3 separate regions of the Homo sapiens genome follow, and all the other regions are linked to region 2. Evidence: promoter capture Hi-C in 16 types of primary human blood cells and fetal thymus (Javierre and others, 2016). All regions are on one chromosome and are shown on one strand. Each heading gives the region's core, a stretch centred on a gene start or on the middle of the fragment in contact. The rest is flanking DNA. Distances are from core to core; before and after follow the strand shown. Region 1 has its middle 94 kb from the start of LRRC8D. Region 2 holds the start of LRRC8B (leucine rich repeat containing 8 VRAC subunit B). Region 3 holds the start of LOC107985743 (a long non-coding RNA gene).

Region 1 (4,040 bases), core at 1,229-3,728, 200 kb after region 2:
CTGATGTAAACTGTGTCTATGTAATGCTGTATTAAGATCTGCGTTCTCCCTCCAGCCTACTAAATCTCCAAACCAAATCATTGAGGGCTTGCGTCACTCATGTTTAATCTTGTAAAATCCACCAACACATTTTGCTTGTTCAGAAAGAATATTCAATAGTTATGATCGTCCATGATAAGGTTGCAGTGCAGATGTCGAACTGGAGTCTGTATGTCCCCTAAGATTTAGATGAAATTGGCTATACCCCCAAGTCCACTGCCCTCCCTAAGGTTTCATAAGTTTCCAATGTGTTTACATTTTCAGGCCACTGACTCTGAGCCTCAGTCTCTATGGAACATCTTCCATTCATCAGCTCACCATTGCTTAGGTTAGATCTCCATTCTAGAGTTTGATCCCTGTTCTTCAGTAAACCACTGCCCTCTTCCTGGATCTCCCCCAGCACTCACACTAGGTTTTTGTGCATTTTAGAAACTTTATTGAAGGTTTGGAGAGACAGCAGAGCATTCATGAGAGCAGTGCAAGCTACTCTAAAACCCCATGTTTGTGAAAGCCATCCCCATCTTCCCCCTCCCAGCCCTTCCGTCTTTTTCTCTGCTTCACAACACCCGTCTCAGGTTCCTCACTTCTGGCAGAGGGCCCTCTCACTTTCTCTCTTGTTTCCTGGTCTCCCACTCTCCACCTCCTCACTCCCACCCTTGGCCCTCCTAGCGGCTTACCCATGTATTTCTCTACACACTTCCATCATGTAGGAGGGATTCTGGTGTCTGCTGTCCAGTTGTTTGATCAGCCTGATACAAGTCGTTGCTTGACCTCTGCCTCTTTCCTGTCTTTCACAGCCCTCCTCTTCTGCCCTCTGCATAAGCCAAATCTTCAAGCTTACTCCTCAGCCTTTTGTACCCCTTTGTCCTTACCCCAGCACTTGGTGGCCTCATTTACCTTCAGGGCTATGTCAGCAGCCTTTTTTGGCAACTCCCAGATTTCTAGTTCTGGTTAGCATCTCTTTTCCACCTCCCACCTCCAACTGCCTTATGGACATTTCCTCCTGCCTGTCATCTCCAGCTTCATGTGTTTAGAAGTAAACCTGTTCTAGGCACAACTCTCGTATTTGCAACTGCCTCCTAAATAATCTCGTCATCAGCCACTCCCGCTTCCACACTAGACTCTCTCCTCTTCTCCACCATTAGACTAGTGTTCCCAGCTGTAACTCTGACCTTATTGCTCCTCTGCTCAAAAACCTTCCCAGTGTCTTCTTGATATTGTCTGTGGGCCTTACCCTGACTTTCGAGGTGGACCACAAGATAGGCTTGACCTGCATTTCCAGCACAAGTCCTGGAGTCCAAAAGGAGTTCCAATTCTTACTATCCATTTACCTGATGCATGACTTTGAGCAAGTTTATTTAAACTCTCCAGCCTCTGTTTATATTGAAGATATCCAAGTATTGACCCTTCCCAGAAAGTAGTAAAATGTCTTGATGCTGGTCCCACCCTCAGCCAAGTGCCTAATTAGCTATATCATGGAGCAGTTAGGTGGGCTGGGAGAAGAACTGAGTGGAGTTGGGGAAGACGGTTTGTTCCCTTTTCTCTGAAGTTCAGATGTTGACAGGTAGCTGGCATTATAGGCACTAAGGGCTACAGCCAAAACTTTGGCTGCATCAGAGAATCTGAGCCTGGGAGGCCCTGATGTAATGCATGGCCATTACACATTTGGTCCAGAGTTTACATCCCATCTCTGCCGCTTTCTGCATGTGTGTTTTGGAGCAAATCAGTTAGCTCCTTGAGCTACATCCTCCTCATCTGTAAAATGGAAACCCACTTTAAAAGTTCCTGCGAGGATCAGTGGCCTGAGGTATGTGATGTGCCTAGCTCAATGCTTGTACTCAGAAAACTTGCTAGTCTCATGATGACTATAGACTGAACTCTGGCTCTGGATAATATAAAAATTATCTACAATACTGCACATTTTCCTAAAGTCAACATTTTTTAACACCCAGAATGTGCTAGACATTGTTGTAAGGGCAGCAAGTTTGTATCTTTGTCCTTAAGGAGCTAGAGCATCATGGAAGAGTCACAGCTAAACAGCTACCACTGGGCAGCAGGATAAGTGATGCAGTGAGTGTGTAAGTGAAGTCCTCTGGCAACACAACTGCTTTTTCAACCAACCAGCATTTTCTGGGCACCTTCCAGGTAGCACATACTGTTCTAGATACTTAAGGACCAAAAATCAATACTGTGATCCTTGTTCTCAAAAAGTCCATAATCTAATAGGAAAAGGCCTCCATGCATTCAGATAGCTACAATGTGTTGTAAGAGCTAACCCAGAAGTCTGTTCACACTAGGAGCAGCGGGGAAAGTGGGCCAGAGTCACCTGGCCATGGGAAAGATTTCAGGAGATGAACCTGAACTGAGTCTTGATGCAGGTGATCCCCAGAAGAGAAATGAGAGGACGTCAGGGAAAGAGCTTTTAGGGTGGGGACAGAGGCCTGAGAGATCACGTGATGTCATTTGGAGGGCTTGGTGCCAGGGAAGGGTCACGGCCATTGGAATGGATGAGAGGTAAAGATGGAAAGATGTGAGGATCAGCTTGAGGGTGCCCTGTGTATTCCACCCATGCCAGAGACCTCTTTATTTTATCCTCCAGCAGTGGGAAACTGGGGAAGGTGTTTAAGCCCATCCTCAGTTAAATTCAAAGGCAGGATAATCTTACAGTCTGTCTGGAGCCTCCTCCCTGTGTTCAAATTCTTGTAAAAAGAAAGAAACTACCATCTCGTTTTTTAGAAATCCAAAGGCTACAGAGAGAAGCCAAGAGTCGGCAGATTAACAATGCCCCAATCAAATTTCATGGTGCATGAGACTCATAAACATTAATGTGTTACTTCAGCTTGTTCTTGGCATCACTAGACCTCAGGAAAACTACCCAGCAGGCCCATTGTCCTTTGTCCCTGCCTCTTCCTCCTTATTTCACACCCCGGTTTCTTCCTTCGCTTTGCTGCTGTTTTCCAGCCGATTAACGGGAATTTGCCCTGTTTCATGTCTACAAAGTCAAAAGGAAACCACCCAGTTTACCTGAACTCTGAGCGCCATTCTCAGTGCAAAGCTCTCTTCCTCCCTCTGCCCCTTATCGTACCGGTGTGCTCATCTGTGAGGTGCCATTCTCAGGGTATATGAGGATGTGCAAAAGTTTGTATCTGCTTATCCTCCTTCAAGCCTGCTCCCCAGGTAAGTCCAATCTGCCTGCTTGGAGCCCTGTGGGCTGGATAACTCAGGGCGAGAGACACAGTGGAAGACGTAGCTTGGTTAGCCAAGTGTCCCCATTAGGACTCTTGCTCTTTTTCTGTCTCCAGAGGAAAGGTGGAGCTTTCCTGCCCACAGAACTTAGTTTCATTTTCCCATTCTTTCTAATGCTGTGTTCCTGCCCTACCCTCCTGGGTAGCACGGGTCTTAGTGTTTCTTCTGGACAGCACTCTGCAGAATGCCTTGGTTCTCCCAACCAAGGGCTTTGATGCTAATGGGAAGACCACAGGTTGAAACGCTAGAGAGCACACTTCTCCTCTGATGGTGCCATTGCTTAATTATTTTGCAACCCCTGCCTCAGCCTCTGGCAGGACCCTCTCTGCCATAGCAGGGAGCCACAGCATCTCTGGCACCCACGCTTCCCTGACCACACCCTGGGAGACTCTGACTCTTCCCACCACTTTCCGTTACAGAGGAAGCAGCGCAGTTTGGAATATGAGACTGGCCCCTACAGTGGCTCTTCAGAGGGACCAGGTGACACAACCTGAAAGTGAGAGGCAGTTTATGCCCGTAGGGTGAAATTTGACCAAATAGAGAAAAAAAAAAAAGACCCTGAGGGGACTGCCAATAAATTCTACGCCCTCCCTTCCTCCTGTGGGTGATTCCTAGGCTGAGTGGTTTGGTTTGTCCTGCCAGGGATGTCTCATACCACCAAGCAACAGGCTGTTTTGTCATGAAGCTGTGACCAACTCATTAATGAATATTCACTTTCCTTCCTCCCAGCCTGGATTTTCCTTTTCTCTTATTTT
Region 2 (4,322 bases), core at 276-2,775:
AATAATTAATCAGAAAGTCCCTGAGAGAATTTCAGATACTCCTGTAAGGATCAAACCTAAATTTAAATTAGACTTGTAGATCTGTGCATACCCAGTGTCTCACACATATAAACTCAATAAAAATTTATCGAATGACCAAGTGAAGAAATGTTCTTTCAGCTTTTCCTTCAAGACTCAGAAAAAAGATATCTGCAGTTCCAGAATGGACTGAGTGAACAAGAAAAGAACAGATCAGTGACACAAAGACAGCCTTCTTTTTCCCTTTCAGGGTGACTCAAATTGTAGTCCTCATCTGAACAGTCTGAGACACAACTCTTGTCTCATATTAACTCGATAGGGCATTTGCTATACTCCCATTTACACAAACTGCTCAGATGCCCCAAATGCTGAGTCTGTTCGTCTTCATTTTATTCCTTTGGGAGATGCCGGTACAAACTTGTTTTTTCTTTCTTTTTTTAAATGGAGATGTGACCACCATAGCAACTAAAAGACATAAATCTTGCCTAATTGAATCAGTGTGCTCAAGATAATAGCCAGGGCAGAGACTGAGTTAAAACTGGGGTAAGGGTGAGAGTGGGGAAATGGATGAGGATGATAAAAATATTTATGTCCCTAGAATTTGTGGGTTTGGATTAATTCTGTTTCGTAAGGAATATTGTTGGCCTTCAAATGCAGTGCCACTTGGGAGAGAAGCAAGCGGGCAGTAGTTGAGGTGTCTCTGCAGTTGAATCGCAGTGAAAGGCAGGTTATGAGTATAGGGACCGCCCCTCGGCCATGTGGTCCCCTCCCTATCCTGAGGATAACGACATTTGAGAGAAGCCAATGGTATTGGAAGGCCAGAATCGAACTTAAGCCGCTTAGTTGGTACAACTGTAAACCCTCCCTCACAGAGGCTGGGCCCTGCAATCTTTCTAAGCAGGGTAAAGAAAAGTAAGGGGACTTCCTTTTCGAAGAGGAGGTTCCCGCGTGCTGCACCCGACCTTTCCCTCAGGGCCCAACACGCGTTATATAAATGCCAAGTTACTCAGGGACGCACACGTGAGAAGGCTGGGGCCCGACACACGCGGTGTAGTGCCGAAGTCACCGGTGTGGCGCGCCTGGGGGACACGCCGAAGCCCATTTCCCTCCCGCTTCTGGAAAGCAGTCCCCGCTCTTTCCAGCTGCTCCGCGGGGCGTATGGCTGTGCGCTACCTCCTGCGGACCCCAGGCTGGGCGAGGGGGCAGCGATGGCCACATGGCGCGCTCGGGGAGATGGCAGCTGCGCTTTGTTTCCAGCAGTGATAGGTGAGTCACTGGCTCCCGCAGCCCCAGAGCTGGGCAAACACTCAGGCCCAGGCAGCTGAAAAATTCACAGCAGGAGCAGCTACCGAAGCGACTGCAGCCTCTTCCTCCTCTTCCTCCTCCTCCTCCTCCTCCGCCACTGCTACCGCCACCACCGTGGTAGCCGCCTCCGCGCCCTGCCTCCGCCCCGTCCCCTCCTCCTCCACCCGCGAACTTAGTCAGCGGTTCGCGCCGCCGAGCGCCCATTGGCCAGCGGAACGCGTCGCGTCACAATGGAGCCGGTCGGAGGCGGCGAGCCGGACAGCGCCGGGGCTTCCCGCTGAGCCCGCAGCCTCCGGCAGCCGGGAAAGTGCGGGCGCGGGGCCGCAGCCTGCCCGCCCGGAGCGGCCCAGGAGCACGCCGCGGGGAGCGCGGGCGTCCGGGGCTGGAGTCGCGCAGGTAGGTCGGAGCGTGACACCCCGGTTCCAGGAGGGCGAGCCGCGCCGACCGAGGTGGTGGAGGAGGAGGACCGGATACGGGGACGCAGCAGGTGGGGCTGGCCGAACAGGTGCGGTTACCTGTTCACGCCTCACCTGCGAGCCAGGCTGCGGGCCGGTAGCGCGGCTGCAGAGACGAGTGGCCGCTTCGTTGTGCTCCCTGCCTTCGGGAGAGACGGAGTCCCACGCTGAGAGGACCTCTCCTGTGTGCTGGGGTCATTTGGAGCAAGAGGTGTGGGCGGTCGCGCCGAGACGGTCACCTCTCTTTCCCCCGGGAGTCTCGGCGTTGCACCTGAGCGTGAGTCCTCGGGGCGGGGCGGGAAAGGGGTTCCGCTTTCCCAGGCTGGCGTCTCGCTCCAGATGAGCGCAACTCCCCTGAGGGTGCCCCCATTTGGTCGCTCTGTTTTGCCCCCTGCGCTGGCGCTGTTGGGAACTATTTTATGCTCTTGGGAACTATTTTATGCTGTTGGATACGCGTTGGTTGCCTATAATTTGGTGGTGGTGTTGGGCGTTGATTTGTTTGAGAAAGAAAGGGCAAGCGTTACCAATTTAAGAAGAAGACTCAAGAGTTTCCCCTGAGCTTAGTTGAGCAGGTGCTGAGAGGTCAGAAGGGAGGAGGCTCAGTATTGGCTCATTAATCTGTGTGCTCAACTGACTTCCTAAAGTCCATAGATTGCCTTTAGTTAGATGACATTTGTGGAAAACTTTTTTTTTCTTTGTGGTCAAAAAGACACCCCTCTAAAAGAACAAAACCGACATGTGAACTTCCTTGAATAAATTCACTTCGCCTAAAGACTTCAAACAAACAAACAAAAAAACACTCCACTGGTAAAAGATAACAGTATGAACATTTTAAATTGTAGATATATAGCCAAATTAAAACAGGCAATTTGTTCAGCGTATATTAAGAAGACATTACGTAGCATGATTTTTATTAAAAGACAACCTATTTGCAAATGATATAGTAGTCTTTGCAGAACACCCCAGAAATCTTAAAACAGATTTATCTTTATCAGATGGTTCTGTCCCCTAAACCTAGGTGTAGGAGTGAGGATGGAAAAGAAGTCAAACTGCAGTGTAATTTTTTAAACAATTCCAGTACCCTCTATGTGTACAGGCTACACCTCCTGAGAACCCCAAATGCTCTTTGTTTTGTTTCTTTGTTTTGTTTTGAGACGGAGTCTCACTCTGTCGCCCAGGCTGGAGTGCAGTAGTGCGATCTCGGCTCACTGCAACCTCCACCTCCTGGGTTCAAGTGATTCTCCTGCCTCAGCCTCCCGAGTAGCGGGGACTACAGGGGCCCGCCACCACGCCCAGCTAATTTTTATATTTTTAGTGGTGGCGGGGTTTCACCATGTTGGCCAGGCTGGTCTGAAACTCCTGACCTCAAGTGACCCACCCACCTCGGCCTCCCAAAGTGCTGGGATTACAGGTGTGACCCCAAATGCTCTCTGAATTGTGGGTGCCGAGGTGACTTTCTTTTTCTCCTGGCTTTCCTTGTCAGCAGCTCTACTCAGAGAATATAAAGTGACAGCCAACCCCCAAGGTAATTGGGCCTGTGTAATTTTAGAATATAAGCCCTAACATGTCTGATATTTCTGTAAGCTAAAAAGAGGTCTCTTGAATGGGGGTGATGTTGTCATTGAGTGCACCCTTGGGTCATGGCACTTTCCTTATACTTAGTATCCCCAACAACATTTTTAAATCTGCATGTCGGAATTAAGTTTACCATTCTTTGAAATGTGTTCTCTTTTTCCTCAATTGGTAAGGTGTTCCAACATGTTCAGCCTATTATGAATCTTTTCACATTTTGAATGATTTCATTTGACTAGTTGAGATTTGCTTTTTTAAACCTCTTCTCTACCACTATCACCATTTCCCATTGCTATTTTAATTTTCAGAATCCTCAGAGTGAAAACACCAACAGTAAGTAAAATGAAAAGGGGCTTAATAAAACTTAAAGGATACTAAGCCTTCCAAGTTTTTTAGACTAATCCATGTATTTTCCTGTAGTGGCCTGAAATTTGTTATTTTTTGTTGTTTTCTGAAGTTTAAGGGGAAAAATATTTTACAATTTAGAACATCCTTGTTTTAGCCAATGTTTTTCTTATAAACAAGGGTTTTTGTTTTTGTATTTTAGTTTTCAAATTCTTCTAATAGTACCTGAGTATTTTATGTTTTCTGGACTTTTTACTATTCATAGCCTGTTTAACCCAATCCCGGATTTTCATTTGGTGTCTCTAAAGTTGAATTCTCTAATTTTACTCTTATTTCTCCTTCCCAGCATCCTTCTACCACACCCTGATATTATTAGAAATGAATGCATTCTGATTCTGTCATGTTATTACACACTTGGTGGCATGATTTGCATTGCCTTGCATGGAGCAGGTTCTCCACTGCTATCCTGACTCCCAGAGCACTGGGTACATCAGCAAACAGTTCAGACCTGTGACCATTCAAGAGGAATTTGGGAGACCCAGTTATAGTGTAGAATTTATTTAACCATTTGTAAAATACCTTCTAATTTGTGTCATATCTGTTTTCATATTGCTGCCTTTTATTGCT
Region 3 (4,490 bases), core at 823-3,322, 220 kb after region 2:
GGTCCTCCAAACACATGGATGTTTTTGCCTTCCCAGAGCTCTCCACTGTGAGAGCACTTGCTGTTGTGCACCGGCCCCACCTCCTAATACTCCACCTTGGGATTAGGATTTCAATACATGAATTTGGGAGAGACATAAACATTCAGTCCATCGCAAATCTCTTGCACTCTTAGCAGACAGCTAAATAAACCAACCCTGTCCCTGTCCATTGATCTTCTTCTCCCAGTTAAAATACCAGCATTTTCTCAGGATATTTGAAAGCTAGTGCTTTTACTCAAAGAAAGAGTATGGGTAGAACCTGTAGGCACCTTACTAGGCTAGTTGGGGAGGTATTTTGGGGTGGTTCTCTCCCAATCCTACCATGAGCAGCATCATATACTTTATTTGGATTGATAATAAAGGTGATTATTTGTGACCTTATTAACAGGGAATATAAATGCCTCAGAGAAGGCTTCCACTGTTTAAAACTATTTTCCAATTTTATGAGTTTTCTGGAATATGAGGTTATTCAGAGAAGGAGCCCTCTTGCAACTCCCTGGCATCTTACCCTCAGTTCCATCTGCATTTTCCACTCTCAACATCCACGCATAAACAGCCAGCATCCAGCCACTCTCTCCCCTTTTATCCTGCTGTGTTGTCACCCTGTCCTCCCTCTGTCTTGTCAAAAATGAGCAAAGGCATATTAGCCACCCTGGGACGGCTTGACACGGAAAAGGTGTCCTTTCAAAATCTCAGAATGTCACGATGAACTAGTTGAGAAAACAGTATGATGGACTGTACTGGCTTCTCCAAAGTCAGCCCCTGTGGAAAAATATTGAACATTTGACTCATTCACTGACATTTGGGACAGTTAAATGGGAGAGGAAAAAAAAGAAAGGAATGAATAAATTGCTTCTTTTTCCTCCATAGGTATCTGATTCAGGCGCCAAAGCTTATGAATCTTGGAATATAGTCAGCTACAATCATGGGTTATTCTCCAAATGAAGAGTCCAAACACTGGCAAAATAAAAAGCACATTTGGTCCATCACATTCCTAACTATAATGGATGCTGAGAAATGGATGCACTGTAACAACCCGCAAGTTTCCTGGTACTGCTGCTGTCATTGCAAAACCATTGCAAAGTATCCATCTCTTGCCTCTGCCAGAAAAAGCCAGCCGTTAACAGAAACTAAACCCAAGGTCACTTACTTTCACATAAAGAGAATATTTTGGCAGCTGCCAAAATTCATTTTTCTAATGTGCACTTACCCAATAACTTAAGCTTGGCATCCTGGGCGGAATCCAACTTGGGTAATTCCATTTTCACAACCGAATTCCCCCAAGGAGTTTGAGCTGAACATCACATTATTCTTCACTTCTCCAGCTATCCTCTCAGTAATCAAACGAGTGCTTTTCATCCCTGAAGCGTCATGGAAATATAGGGGTGGGGGTTCAAAAAAGGGTTTCTTCTTAAGAATATAGTGATGAGAGGTTCCGTTATACGAACTTAGTAAAGTCCTTTGGAAGTCAAGACTGGTTTCATTTTTTTAATTATTATTTATTTATTTATTTTTTGAGATACAGTCTCACTCTGTCACCCAGGCTAGAGTTCAGCGGCGCAATCTTGGCTCACTGCAACCTCTGCTTCCTGGGTTAAAGTGATTCTCCTGCCTCAGCCTCCTGAGTAGCTGAGATTACAGGTGTGTGCCACCACACCTGGCTAATTTTTTGTATTTTAGTAGAGATGGGGTTTCACCACGATGGCCAGGCTGGTCTCAAACTCCTGGCCTCAAGTGATCCACCTGCCTCAGCCTTCCAAAATGCTGGGATTACAGGCATGAGTCACTGCGCCCAGCCTGGTTTCATTTATTTAACCAACAGGTATTGAGGTTTGTGCCAAGTGCTGGTCTCAATATTGCAGGTGCAGCAGGACATAAGAAAAGGTTTCTGCCCTCAAGAAGTAAATATTAGAATAAGTATATGAAATAGGGCTGGAGAGAGACACAGGAATCAGACCATTAAGGCCATGATATGGAGTTTGGATATTATTATAAGTACAGTTGGAGAGTATTAGTGGAGTGATGATCAGATTCAGGGTTTTTAATAAGATCACTGTGAAGAGGAAGAGCCATTGTACAGGATACCTGTGGAACCAGGGTCTTAACCTTCTGTTGTTTTCCATTGGAATCTAACCATTCTAGGAGTCAACACAGCTATGGCCAGATTTTCCTCCTTGCCATTCTTCAAACAGCCTTGGATTCTCGGTAACTCAAGAACCAAAGAGTCCAAAGCCATGGTTTGACCACATGGATCATCAGCACCGCTCCACGACTGATGCTGCTTTCCCTTCTTCTCTAGCCAGCTGTACTTCGTGAGCTTCCTTTGGTCATTCAGGACACCAGAAACAAATAAACTAAGAAGCATTAGTTCATCTCCATGAGCTGCTCCAAGAGCTTTAAAAGTAGGTCAGTTGCAAAGTCCAGGAGCAGAAGTATGTGTACATATATGAGACTTATTAAATGGTGGCATTCTGGGAAGAGCATCACCACTGATAAAGAATCATTGAAACTTTCTATTTCTGTGAACAGTGGTAAATATAAATCTTAAAATCATAGAATCTGAGAGTGGTAGAGGACTTCAGTGATCATCAAGTCCAACCTCCCACCCAAGGTAGGATTATTCTATGTGGCCCTGACAGGGAGTCTAATGTCCTATATCCCTCCCATATCACATAAAAACATCAGAGGAGTCAGTTTAAATGCACACTGTTCTGTTGGCTAGGGAAGGCCATCGACTGTGACATCTATTGCCCAAAGTTGCAGTCTGAAGGGCCAAATAGCAGATAGAAAAAGTTATGTCTTAAAGAGGGGTAAAGGTCACAACCTAGAAGGAGAACACCAAATAAGCTTGTCAATCTCAGCACCAAGTTGGAAGAAGGTTATCAAGTATACAGAGCCAGAAAAAGAAGATACCCAAGATGCTGATGGGTGACAAATATGGACTAAGTGGATTGGAGGTGAGCACATTTGGAGGGATTTCTGCAGGTTCTCATGATAAATTGTTTATGTAGTTCTCACACAGATTTATATAATTGTGCCAGGTACTTTTGGAGGATCTAGAAGGGAACTTCTGTCTTGCTTCTGCTAAATGATCCCTGTCTCACACGGTAGCCCATTCCATCATTAGGAAGTGCCGACAATCAGAATATTCTCCACACCCTCTTCCCTCTGGCCATAGATCTGTTCTTGAGTGACACGCAGAGCAAATCTAAATTTCTTTTTCTCATGATGACCTTTCAAATAATTAAAGCAGATCCTATGTTCCCGTTCAATATTTCCTGCTCTAGGCTACATCTCCCCTGATTCCTTCAACTGTTCTCAGATGATGTAATTTTGTAGCTTCCAAACTTTCAAGTTGGAAAGGGCCTCAGAAATTCAAGTACAGATCTCCCTCTTTGCCCGGGAGGAAGATAAGGTTTAGAGAGAAGAAATGCAGCTTTGGGTAGAGGTGGGGAGTAGATTTTGCCCAATGTCATCTGGAAGTGGCAATTTCAAAACTTAAACCTGAATCTCTTCATCTGAAGTCTAGTGTTTTCCCCATGTCTTTCAACAAACCTCAGGATCCTACTCACTTTCCTCTGGATTCATTCCAGCTTCTCAGTCTTCTTCTTTAAAGGGAGCCCCTTTTGTTGAACCCACCAGCAGATGTGCTCTAGCCAACCAAGAGAACAAGGGGATTGTTATCGATTTTATTGTAAACTTCATACATCCATTAATGCTGCTATGATTACTTTAGATTTCTTTGGCAGGCCCTGGGATTCATACTGAGCATGTGGTTAACTAAAACCATTTGTTTTGTGTGGTTTTCTTTTACTTGAAATGTGTCAAGGAAGGTATTTTCCACCTTGTACTAAAATAGTTCATTTTTAATTTAACAAAAGTGTAGGACTTTATATTTAATCTTCCTAAATATCTCTTTGTTAATTTAGTATATCTTTCCACCCGGTTGAGATATTTTTGAATTTTAATTCTATCAAACATATTAACTAACCATCCATGTTTTATGATATACATAGATTCAATAAGCACACTGTGGCAAAGACAATTCTTGCCAAATATGCCATGTACTCCCTTGCTTTACCCAAACGCTGTTGCAATTGGGTTGGAGCCATGTGACTTCCTCCAGCCAATGGATGGTGAGTAAAGGTGATGTCATTTCTGGGCCAAGGTATTTTTTTTTTTTTATTATACTTTAAGTTTTAGGGTACATGTGCACATTGTGCAGGTTAGTTACATATGTATACATGTGCCATGCTGGTGCGCTGCACCCACTAACTTGTCATCTAGCATTAGGTATATCTCCCAATGCTATCCCTCCCCCCTCCCCCAACCCCACCACAGTCCCCAGAGTGTGATATTCCCCTTCCTGTGTCCATGTGATCTCATTGTTCAATTCCCACCTATGAGTGAGAATATGCGGTGTTTGGTTTTTTGTTCTTGCGATAGTTTAC

Evidence for each region. Contacts are between HindIII fragments. The CHiCAGO score rates a contact against its expected background, and 5 or more counts as called.
Region 1: a contact is called between a fragment that was not itself captured here and the fragment with the promoter of LRRC8B in region 2, in 2 of 17 cell types (activated CD4 T cells and total CD4 T cells). The highest score is 6.9, in activated CD4 T cells.
Region 3: a fragment that was not itself captured here is called in contact with the fragment with the promoter of LRRC8B in region 2 in 1 of 17 cell types (non-activated CD4 T cells); the score reaches 5.8 in non-activated CD4 T cells.

The regions. Positions count from the first base shown.
Region 1 is chr1:89,725,192-89,729,231 of GRCh38, forward strand. No RefSeq gene overlaps it. Among named protein-coding and RNA genes, the nearest start is that of LRRC8D, 94 kb to the right of the region's middle. The HindIII fragment of the contact is 3,210 bases long and covers 874-4,040 here.
Region 2 is chr1:89,523,304-89,527,625 of GRCh38, forward strand. LRRC8B (leucine rich repeat containing 8 VRAC subunit B) reads left to right here and starts at 1,526. Exons shown (of 6, transcript NM_001369817.2): 1 at 1,526-1,719. RefSeq lists a silencer at 1,390-1,849 and enhancers at 2,551-3,052, 3,053-3,554. The HindIII fragment of the contact is 21,216 bases long and covers 1-4,322 here.
Region 3 is chr1:89,742,817-89,747,306 of GRCh38, forward strand. LOC107985743 (a long non-coding RNA gene) reads left to right here and starts at 997. Exons shown (of 3, transcript XR_002958333.2): 1 at 997-1,180; 2 at 2,182-2,996. The HindIII fragment of the contact is 1,624 bases long and covers 1,261-2,884 here.